Linked DNA regions of Homo sapiens: region 2 is linked to region 1. The links are contacts of gene promoters, found by promoter capture Hi-C in blood cells and fetal thymus (Javierre and others, 2016). All regions are on one chromosome and are shown on one strand. The core of a region is centred on a gene start or on the middle of the fragment in contact, and the rest is flanking DNA. Distances in the headings are between cores, read along the strand shown. Region 1 holds the start of NAV2-AS3 (NAV2 antisense RNA 3). Region 2 has its middle 5.2 kb from the start of HTATIP2.

Evidence for each region. The method cuts DNA at HindIII sites, captures the fragments that hold promoters and counts their contacts. A CHiCAGO score of 5 or more calls a contact.
Region 2: a fragment that was not itself captured here is called in contact with the fragment with the promoter of NAV2-AS3 in region 1 in 1 of 17 cell types (erythroblasts); the score reaches 6.1 in erythroblasts.

The regions. Positions count from the first base shown.
Region 1 is chr11:19,978,969-19,983,246 of GRCh38, forward strand. It overlaps NAV2-AS3 (NAV2 antisense RNA 3), which reads right to left and starts at 2,406. Exons shown (of 2, transcript NR_174949.1): 1 at 2,269-2,406; 2 at 1-227. All of the region lies in intron 10 of NAV2 (neuron navigator 2), which reads left to right. RefSeq lists an enhancer at 1-712 and a silencer at 15-309. The HindIII fragment of the contact is 1,320 bases long and covers 1,610-2,929 here.
Region 2 is chr11:20,356,417-20,360,694 of GRCh38, forward strand. No RefSeq gene overlaps it. Among named protein-coding and RNA genes, the nearest start is that of HTATIP2, 5.2 kb to the right of the region's middle. The HindIII fragment of the contact is 7,195 bases long and covers 1-4,278 here.

The sequences.
Region 1 (4,278 bases), core at 1,156-3,655:
GTCTGGAGTATTTGTTCTAGCAGGTCCTGTTAGATTCCACAGCTTTTTCATAGCTAGTGTCAGTTACCAACCTATTCTGTAGAGAAAGTTCCTTTTGTAAAAGGCATGTTGCCTTCACAGGTCTGTCTTGACTGGAGGGATGGTGAGGACTACCCTTCAAGTCTGGCCAGCTCCCAGAGGTCTGGGATGACTCAGACAGGACTAGGAAATGGTGTGTTCTGAAAAATCTGTAGAAGAAAGTACTGATGAGAAAATGCCCACCAAAAATTGAATACAGAATGTTGGAAGAATCGAAAAGTCGACGTTCTCTTTGAAACAGAAGCCAGAGCCTGTTACTCATTAGTACCTTCATGTATCCCCCATCTTACAGGCAGAGGCCTGGCATCCAAGATGTTCAAAACCATCCCCCAGGTCCCATGCAGCCCAGTTCCTAGCTGTGATCCCAGTGTTCTAACAATAGTGAACTACTTACCCTTCTCTGAACATACCTTCCCCTCTGCCATTTCTCTCTGCTTTTGCATAGGTTATCCATGTGTCTAGATGGATCCTCTTTTGGCTGGCAAACTCCTCCGCACCCTTTAGGGCCAACTTAAACAGCACTCCTCTGCGACGCTTTCTCCCGTGTGTTCTCAAAGCCAGTCATGCATTCATCTGTTATACCACTTTTATGTAGCAGTAGAGCTATTTGCATGTCTTAGTCCCTAGTAGGTTTTGAGCTTCACCAGAGCAGGAACTAGGTCTTGCCACTCCTGTAAGCAGCTAATGATTAGGAAGTGCTCCCTATATGCCAGGCACTGGGCTTTCTAAACATATGCACTGTCTCATTTAACCTGCCACAATCCTATGAGGGAACTTAAACTAGAAGAAATTGCGCTGAAATGCGACAGTTGGGATTTGAACTCACCTGCCTGCGCTGGGATCTTAACCACAGCTCTGTTTTCCTCATCTGAACAATAGAGATGACAATAACACTTGATAAGATTATTTTGAAGGTTGAATGCCATGATTTATGTGAAGCACTTAACACAGTACCCAGTGAGCATTTAGTACCATTAGTGCTTACTAACAATGATGTATACTAGGTCCTTCAGCCAGCAAGGGGCAGAGAAGGCATTTGAACAACTTGGGTCTAACAACAGTCATGTTCCTTAACCCTGATGCTCATGGGCCACCCCAGGGAAGCAAGAAAAACACCCCACAGACACCTTGTCCCTTTAGCAGAGGCTCTGACTCTTTCCATCCAGGGGTCTCTGGGGAAGCTTAAGAAGGTGGATGCGGAGAGCCGCCTCCACCCACCTATCATGGCAGAACTCGGGAGGGTAATGGGGAGATGGTTCAGTAGCTTAGCAACTGAGGCAAGAGTCCACTCAGAAGACATTAGGATGTTACCAGCACCTCATTAGGCTCCAGCACTAATTATTTATCTCTCCAAGGAGAAGGAAAGTGTGGCATGGGTGTTCTGAGATTGAGTTCTTGGATCAGCTGGTTCCTTTGCTTGTGACCTCAGACAAGTCATTTCTTCTTCACCCAGTGTGAGCCTCTTATAAAAGCTCCTCAAGTGGAGGATGAGGCCATCAGTCCTCTGGCTCCCTGAACCTTCAGAAACACAAGCTTTTTTAACACTTCTGGGCAAAAGCCAGTGTTTCAGATAAACACACCCGTGGCTGCTTCATCTGTAAATTATGCTTTCTTAAGGCCTTCACTTTGTTAAGGCAGTCTATATTGATGTATACAATAGCCAATTCCTATACAAATTTTGGTCCAGCAAACCCAAATTTGTATATTTTTCATTGACTGTATAATACAGGAGTTATTTAAAAATATATACAGAGCTGTTTGTAAATCATTGTAATTGGTGGATAATAATTTAGAAACATTTTAAATTAATTTCTTGAGTGTGAGGCTGGCTCTAACCACAGCTCTGTCTCTGGTGCTGTGCCGTCTCCCAAGGAGAGACATACAACAGAATTTATTTCAAAGAATATTGTTGTTTAAAAAACAGTTGAACATGTGTTTACATATCTCTAAAAGAAGAGGTAAGTTCCCCATTTTCCTTATCACTCTGCCTGCCCTCCCTCTACATGCGCACGATAAGTGAAATAGACTTGCAGTCTTGAAACTAGATCATTGTCAGACTAGTTGCATTCACCTCCCTGACTTTCATTTCTTCCTACAGTTTGAGAAGGCAGAAGATCCTGATTTAGCTTTGCCTTTCCCCTCCCCTCTGCCAAAACAAAGTCAGAATTCCCAACAGCAAGCCCAGCTCACATGTTCAGTTCCATTTCAGTCCCATTTCTCAGAGGCTTTCCCGCTTTTCTGGGGTTGTCGTTTTCTGATACATCCACGTTGCACCCGGGTGTAGCTGGGCTGGGGCTGCAACGTTTCTCAGCATTCTGTGTCTGGAATGCTCACCAGGCCCCACAGTCTGGCCTTAGCAGGAAGCCAGGGTTCTGTACATGTGGGCCTTGTCTACATGCCTGTGTGTGTGTAATTACCCAACCGTGTGTGTTGTTTCACCAGCAATAAAAATCCAGCAGGGAAATGAATGCTAAAATTAGTTTGTTTGTCCTTTGACAAGATCTCCCCAGTTGAAAGAATTTTGTTTATCTAACTGGCTGGGCAGACTTGGCTAAGATCAAAATTAACTGCCTTGCTTAATGGTGTAATAGATGGTATTTTGAAGAGCTTCCACTGAGTTCTCCTTGAAAGGACGTGGGGTCTAGAAAGTCCAGCCTCTGGCAAAGTTATGGCATTTTGGTGTAGGTGTTTTTTCCTCCTTGTGCTACCTGTAGGATGGATGCCCATAACCCATTACTCTACCCTGAGTCACTCTATCTGTTGGAGGGTGGCTGGATGGATGGATGATGGGTAGATTGGCAGATCGACAGTTTAATTTGCTTGTCATATGTCTTAAATGTAAGTTTGTTAAAGCTTAAGAGGAAAGAAAACCTGTAATCAGTGTTCTTGCAAAAAAAATTTGCACAGCCCTATGGCTGTGTCTTTGGGCTTCATTCATTCATGTGTTCATTCATTCAACAAAAACAGCATTTAATAAGCACCTAGTATGTACTAAGCTCATGGGATATAGATTTGAACAAAATAAGAATCTCTGCCTGCAAAGAGCTTACTATTTAGTGTGAGAGACATGCATTGAAGGGCAATTAAACAAATAATTATTTAACTATAGCTGTAATCATTTTTTATATTTTTATTGAGATTTAATTCATATATCATGAAATTCACCATTTTATTTATTTATTTTTGGGGTTTTCTTTTTTGTTTTGTTTTTGTTTTTGTTTTGTTTTGTTTTGTTTTTTGAGACGGAATCTCACTCTGTCGCCCAGGCTGGAGAGCAGTGGCACGATCTCGGCTCACTGCAACCTCCACCTCCCGGGTTCAAGTGATTCTCCTGCCTCAGCCTCCCAAGTAGCTGGGACTACAACAGGTGCATGCCACGTGCCCGGCTAAAAATTCACCATTTTAAAGCATACAATTTGATGGTTTTTAATGTATTCACAGAGTGGTTTTTAAAATGATAAAGTTGAGTGAAAACTTCAGTCTCTTCTGTTGCATTTTCAGCACAAGCACAAACACTTAGTCTGATTTACTCCAACAGATTTCTCATTATGTTGATATTGTGACCTTGGGGATCATTAATGTCATAAAGGGAGGAGCAGGGAACATTGGAGGTGTTGAATTTAGCCACAGTAGCTTAGAAGCTTCCTGGGTTCCTCTTACCCATTCTGGAAGGTGCTTTTCACATGAGATAACTCCAGTGAGAATTTTCTTCTCTGCCCCTTACTTGAACTTCCTGGTCTGGGCAGCCTCGTCTGCATCTCATAATTCTGTTCTTGAAAAATATATCCTAAAAAGGTCCCCAGCTACAGGTAGAAGAAATTCAAGGATTGGGAACCCTCAGGGTCGACTCCATATATGCAAAAGTTAAAATGGCAAGTGCAATTAAGCTTTCCATGACGTAGCTCAGCTGACCCTGTTTCAGAAAAATAATGACTCATTGGTCCTCTTACTACATATTACTTGATTTGAAATGTAAAATGCTTGCATTTTCAGATACCTTGCAGGGTGATCTGATGGGGCCCATAAGGGATTGAAGGGATCCAAGTTTGGTTTCTGGCTCTGCCCAAGTTTTGCTTTGCCTTCCTGTTCTCCTCTGAAGATGAGGGAAATGACAAAACCAGTCTCCTTTATGGGGGCTGTGAGGAAGCCAAGGTAGATATGAGGTACAGCTGCCTTGGACTGAGCTACCTCCTACTAGTG
Region 2 (4,278 bases), core at 1,314-3,813, 380 kb after region 1:
GGTCATCCTGGATTATCTGGGCAGGCCCTAAATCCATTGACAATTGTCCTTATAAGAGACAGAAGACACAGACACCAGAAGAGAAGACCACGTGAAGACAGAGGCAGAGATGGGAGTTTTACAGCCACAACCCGAGGAACGCCTGGAGCCATCAGAAGTGGGAAGAGGGAAGGGAGCATTCTCCCCTAGAACCTGCAGAGGGAACATGGTCCTGCTGACACTTCAATTTCAGACTTCTGAGAGAGTAAGTTTCTGGTGTTGTAAACCATCCAGTGTGTGGTCATTTGTTACAGCAGCCTTAGGAAACTAATATACCAGCTCATCACCTCTTTTTGACTTTCAGGGACCATGACATCTGTGGCTTCCCTGCCAATCCAGCCCTGGTCTTGCATAAATCCTCTGCCCATCTGGTTGTTCCTTCACTGTCTTCTCCCTGGGACCCTCAGGTCTCTTTGTGTGCCTTCCCTCATGTTCCCTCCTCATCAGAAAGAAGACATGCCCTCTCAACAGAGTCCCCCTTCAGAAGGGAACTGGCTTTTGAGGTGGAGTGATAGTGGGGGAGGAGATGAGATCTCTAGGGACATGGTGGTGTAGTAGGCAGGGTGCTCTTTGCCAGTCAGTTCCTTGACATGTTTTCTAATTTTTTTTACCAGCCTCAACCCTTCCTTTTGTTGCCTGCATTAAAGAGTGTGTCTAAGATCCACTACTTGCACAAGTCTTGCTACATTCTTGGGGGTCATCCATAAAGTATGTTTGACTAGTTCACCTCTTACTCTCCTAGGTCTCATGCATAAGGTATGGTGAAATCTACCCCATGAAAACATTTTTCTTGAGCACCTACTAAGTGCCAAACACTGCCCCAAAGCTGGGGCTGTAGCAGTGAGATAGATGTGGTGGCTGACCTCACAGAGCAGAGTCTTCCTGTTTTGATAAATATTGTGCTTATCTAGTTGGACTTCACTGAGGTCACACAGCTACTAAGTGGATGGCCAGGATTCAAATCTACTTCCGTCTGACTGCAAAGTTGCTTTCTACCACATCATGTGTATCAGTTTGGGTCCTGGCAAGAAACAGAGAACATGTTCCAACAGAGTAACTGAGGGAGAATTTAGTGAAAGATTATTTACAAGGAAGCAGGAAGGGTTAAAGAAAACCCAACAAGGAATGGTGCTGTGTCTCAGTGCTAGCAATAGCGGGGAGCCATTTCTACTCCTAAGTCTAAAAGGTTGAGGCAAGGAGGTGGTTACTGGAACCTGGAGAGAGTGCCTGCAGCTGTCAGGGAGGCTATCAGACAGGAGTGAGGCTCTTGGGTCGAGGAATAGCAATCTCATAGCAGGAATTCAGGGGAATAAAGCCCCTAACCCCATACTCCTCCTCTGCTTCAATTTCCTACTGGTGACTCTTATCACCAAGGTAGGTGATAGGTCAAGGAGGACAAGGTAGACTGGGTGATGCAGGCCTTAGAGGTCAGCTGTGGAGTCACAGAAAAGGATACAGAGAGTGGAAAGTGGATCTGGAGGGGCAAATGAAAAATGTGCCTGTAATCCCAGTACTTGGGAGGCTGACACAGATAATTACTCGAGCTCAGGAGTTCAAGACCAGCCTGGGCAACATGACAAAACCCTGTTTCTGGAGAAAAAAAAAAAAAAGATGCGTGTCTGTAGTCTCAGCCACACGGGAGGCTGTGGGAGCTTGAACCCGGGAGGCAGAGGTTGCAATGAGCTGAGATCATGCCACTGCCCTACAGCCTGGGCGACAGAGCAAGATCATATCTCACAAAAGAAAGAAAAAAGAAAAATGCCCAACATACCAGTGTTTCCCAAACTTTACTCCTTCAGATACTATTTTCATGAGTTTACCATATCCTATGTTTACAATACACTCAGCTGTACTTAATATTTTATGAAAACGTCCTCTTTTTTTTTAAACTTTGTTAAATGTACTACTAGTAACAGGTACTAATAAATGTATTAATGGTAATTAAGGTAATATTTCACTACCTTGAATAGAAGAAAACCATAAAAAATAAATCTAATAAAATCAAGTTTGCTAAATTTTAAAACCTAAAATTTAACAATAATTATAAATGATAATGTATCTTATGATGTCCTTCACAGGCTGGTCCCTACCTGCCTCTCTAGTCTCCCCTCCCCTGCCCTGCCCCTGCCCCATGCTTCCATCTCTCCATTTCAAGCATATTGGTTTTTGGCCCTTCAAAACCAGCCATACTTCTACCTACCACAGTGCTTTTACATAGGTTATTCCTTTGGTATATATCAGTAAGAGGACATACCCATGAGTGCTAGGGAACCTGAAGAATTTAACAAATACAGTGCTATCAGCTAAAAACAAGAAGAATTATGCTTTCCTGAAAACATTCTAGAATTACACAGGTATTACTCATGATTTTGTCATTGATCTGGATATCCAGGTTCTTGTCCTGGCACCAAAGTTGAATCCCAAGATCTTAGATGATATATTTAATAAACGTGTGACTCAGTTTCTCCATCTATAAAAACAATTAGCTATCAAGAACACGATAGATACACTAAATCAACTACCTAAACTGTTGAATGCAATTCATGGTTGTATTTGTTATGTGAGAGCAGAAAATTACAATACTTTCTTTCAGACACCTACCTTTACCAAATCCAACCTCTTATGTGCCCAACCAGATATCTTAGTCATGCTACAGTTATTTAAAGCTCTCATTTGTTAAAAAAAAAAAAAAATTATCTAGCATTCATATTTACAAATAAATGAGATAAATGGGGAACAAGTATAGCCACTTTAGATGCTATTTAACATCCGTTCTGTTTTCTTTCTATAATAGTGACCTCTACTTTCCTTGGGGACCTTACTTCCTCCCCTACTCCCAGACATGTGGGAAGAGATAGCCCCACCCGGCTTCATTCCCAGAGCCACAGTGACAATCATAAGGTTTAATCAGAACTAAGGAGATACAGCTGGGGACTTCTGCTTACAGTTATGCTCTTTCTACTGGACTTGAATCTAGGGGGATGTACTTGATAGCTTCAATCATCCATTCTCCTCATTTATCTACCTTATTGTATGCCCTGAAGAAAACTGGTCTGCACAATATAAGTTCCCTCTAGCTTCTGGTTGAATTTAGACAATGAAGAGTATGAGCAAGAGCACAGCCTTTGGGTCATCTTGCAGGGTCTGAGAGTAAGGCCGACGTGAAGGGAAATAGAGCCATGGTTGGCAGAGGGACTGGGTCCTGGCCCCATTGGCTGACTGGCTGATTCTGGTCATGCCAAGACTATTATATACACTGATTCTTTAGTTGCATGAGCCAGGACATTTCCTTTTTTTTTTTCCTCAAAACATTTTGAGTTTGGGGCTTCAAACACGTGAAACAGAGTCTTAATGAAGGTATAACTAAAAATATAGCTCTGAAGTGAAGATGCATGGATCCCTGATCCTGAGGACTCTAAATCTGACCTAAATACAGTTCCAGTCTCCCTAAGGCCCCATCCTACAGCAGATCCTGTTTTGAGATTTCTCTGAGATTCTGTCTCTCTTATACATGATTTATAGCCTTACAATATTACAATATTCACCATCTTTACTCGCCATGAGTCAGTTTGTTCCTTGGAGCAAAGCGAATGTAATGAAACAGTTCCCATCTTACAGATAGGGAAATGGAGGCCAAGATATATGAAGAGACTTCATCAAAGGCAAACCTGAACGTGGCAGGCAGGTCTCTGGCCAAGGATCTTTCCATGCCAGCTCCGTTTCTTTATGTCCCCTTTCCCTCCTTCCCTATGCTTTCCCCTTCCCCTTTGCCCTGAATTTTTGTGGTCCGGTTGCTCTAGGAGCCTAGGTCTTGTCACATTATCTCAGCACTTGGATGACATGGTTCCAGCTGTCAGAGAAGGAAAGGCATGGACTTGTTTTTCTCTGAGTTTCCTTCTATTTCTGTATGCTCATTTGGCCTTCAGCATGTGCCACCCTGTGAAAGTTTGGGGGATGTTTTATAATGTTGCTTAACTTTATTTAGCTTCCCAAGTATTTATGACTTGCCTTCAAGATGAGAGTGAATTTAGCTGGTGTCCCTGATTCACCTTGGAAAAATCTATTGTGCCTAGCACAGTATCTGGCTTGCATTAGATAATCAGTAAATATCCATTGACAAGATTGACTAAAAGAATCTTACATTAGGCAAAATGCTGGCTAAGCTGCTGTAACAAAATTACAGTGGCTCCAACATGACAGAAGTTGATTTTTCTCTCACTCCCCAGAGGTGTGCCGGCA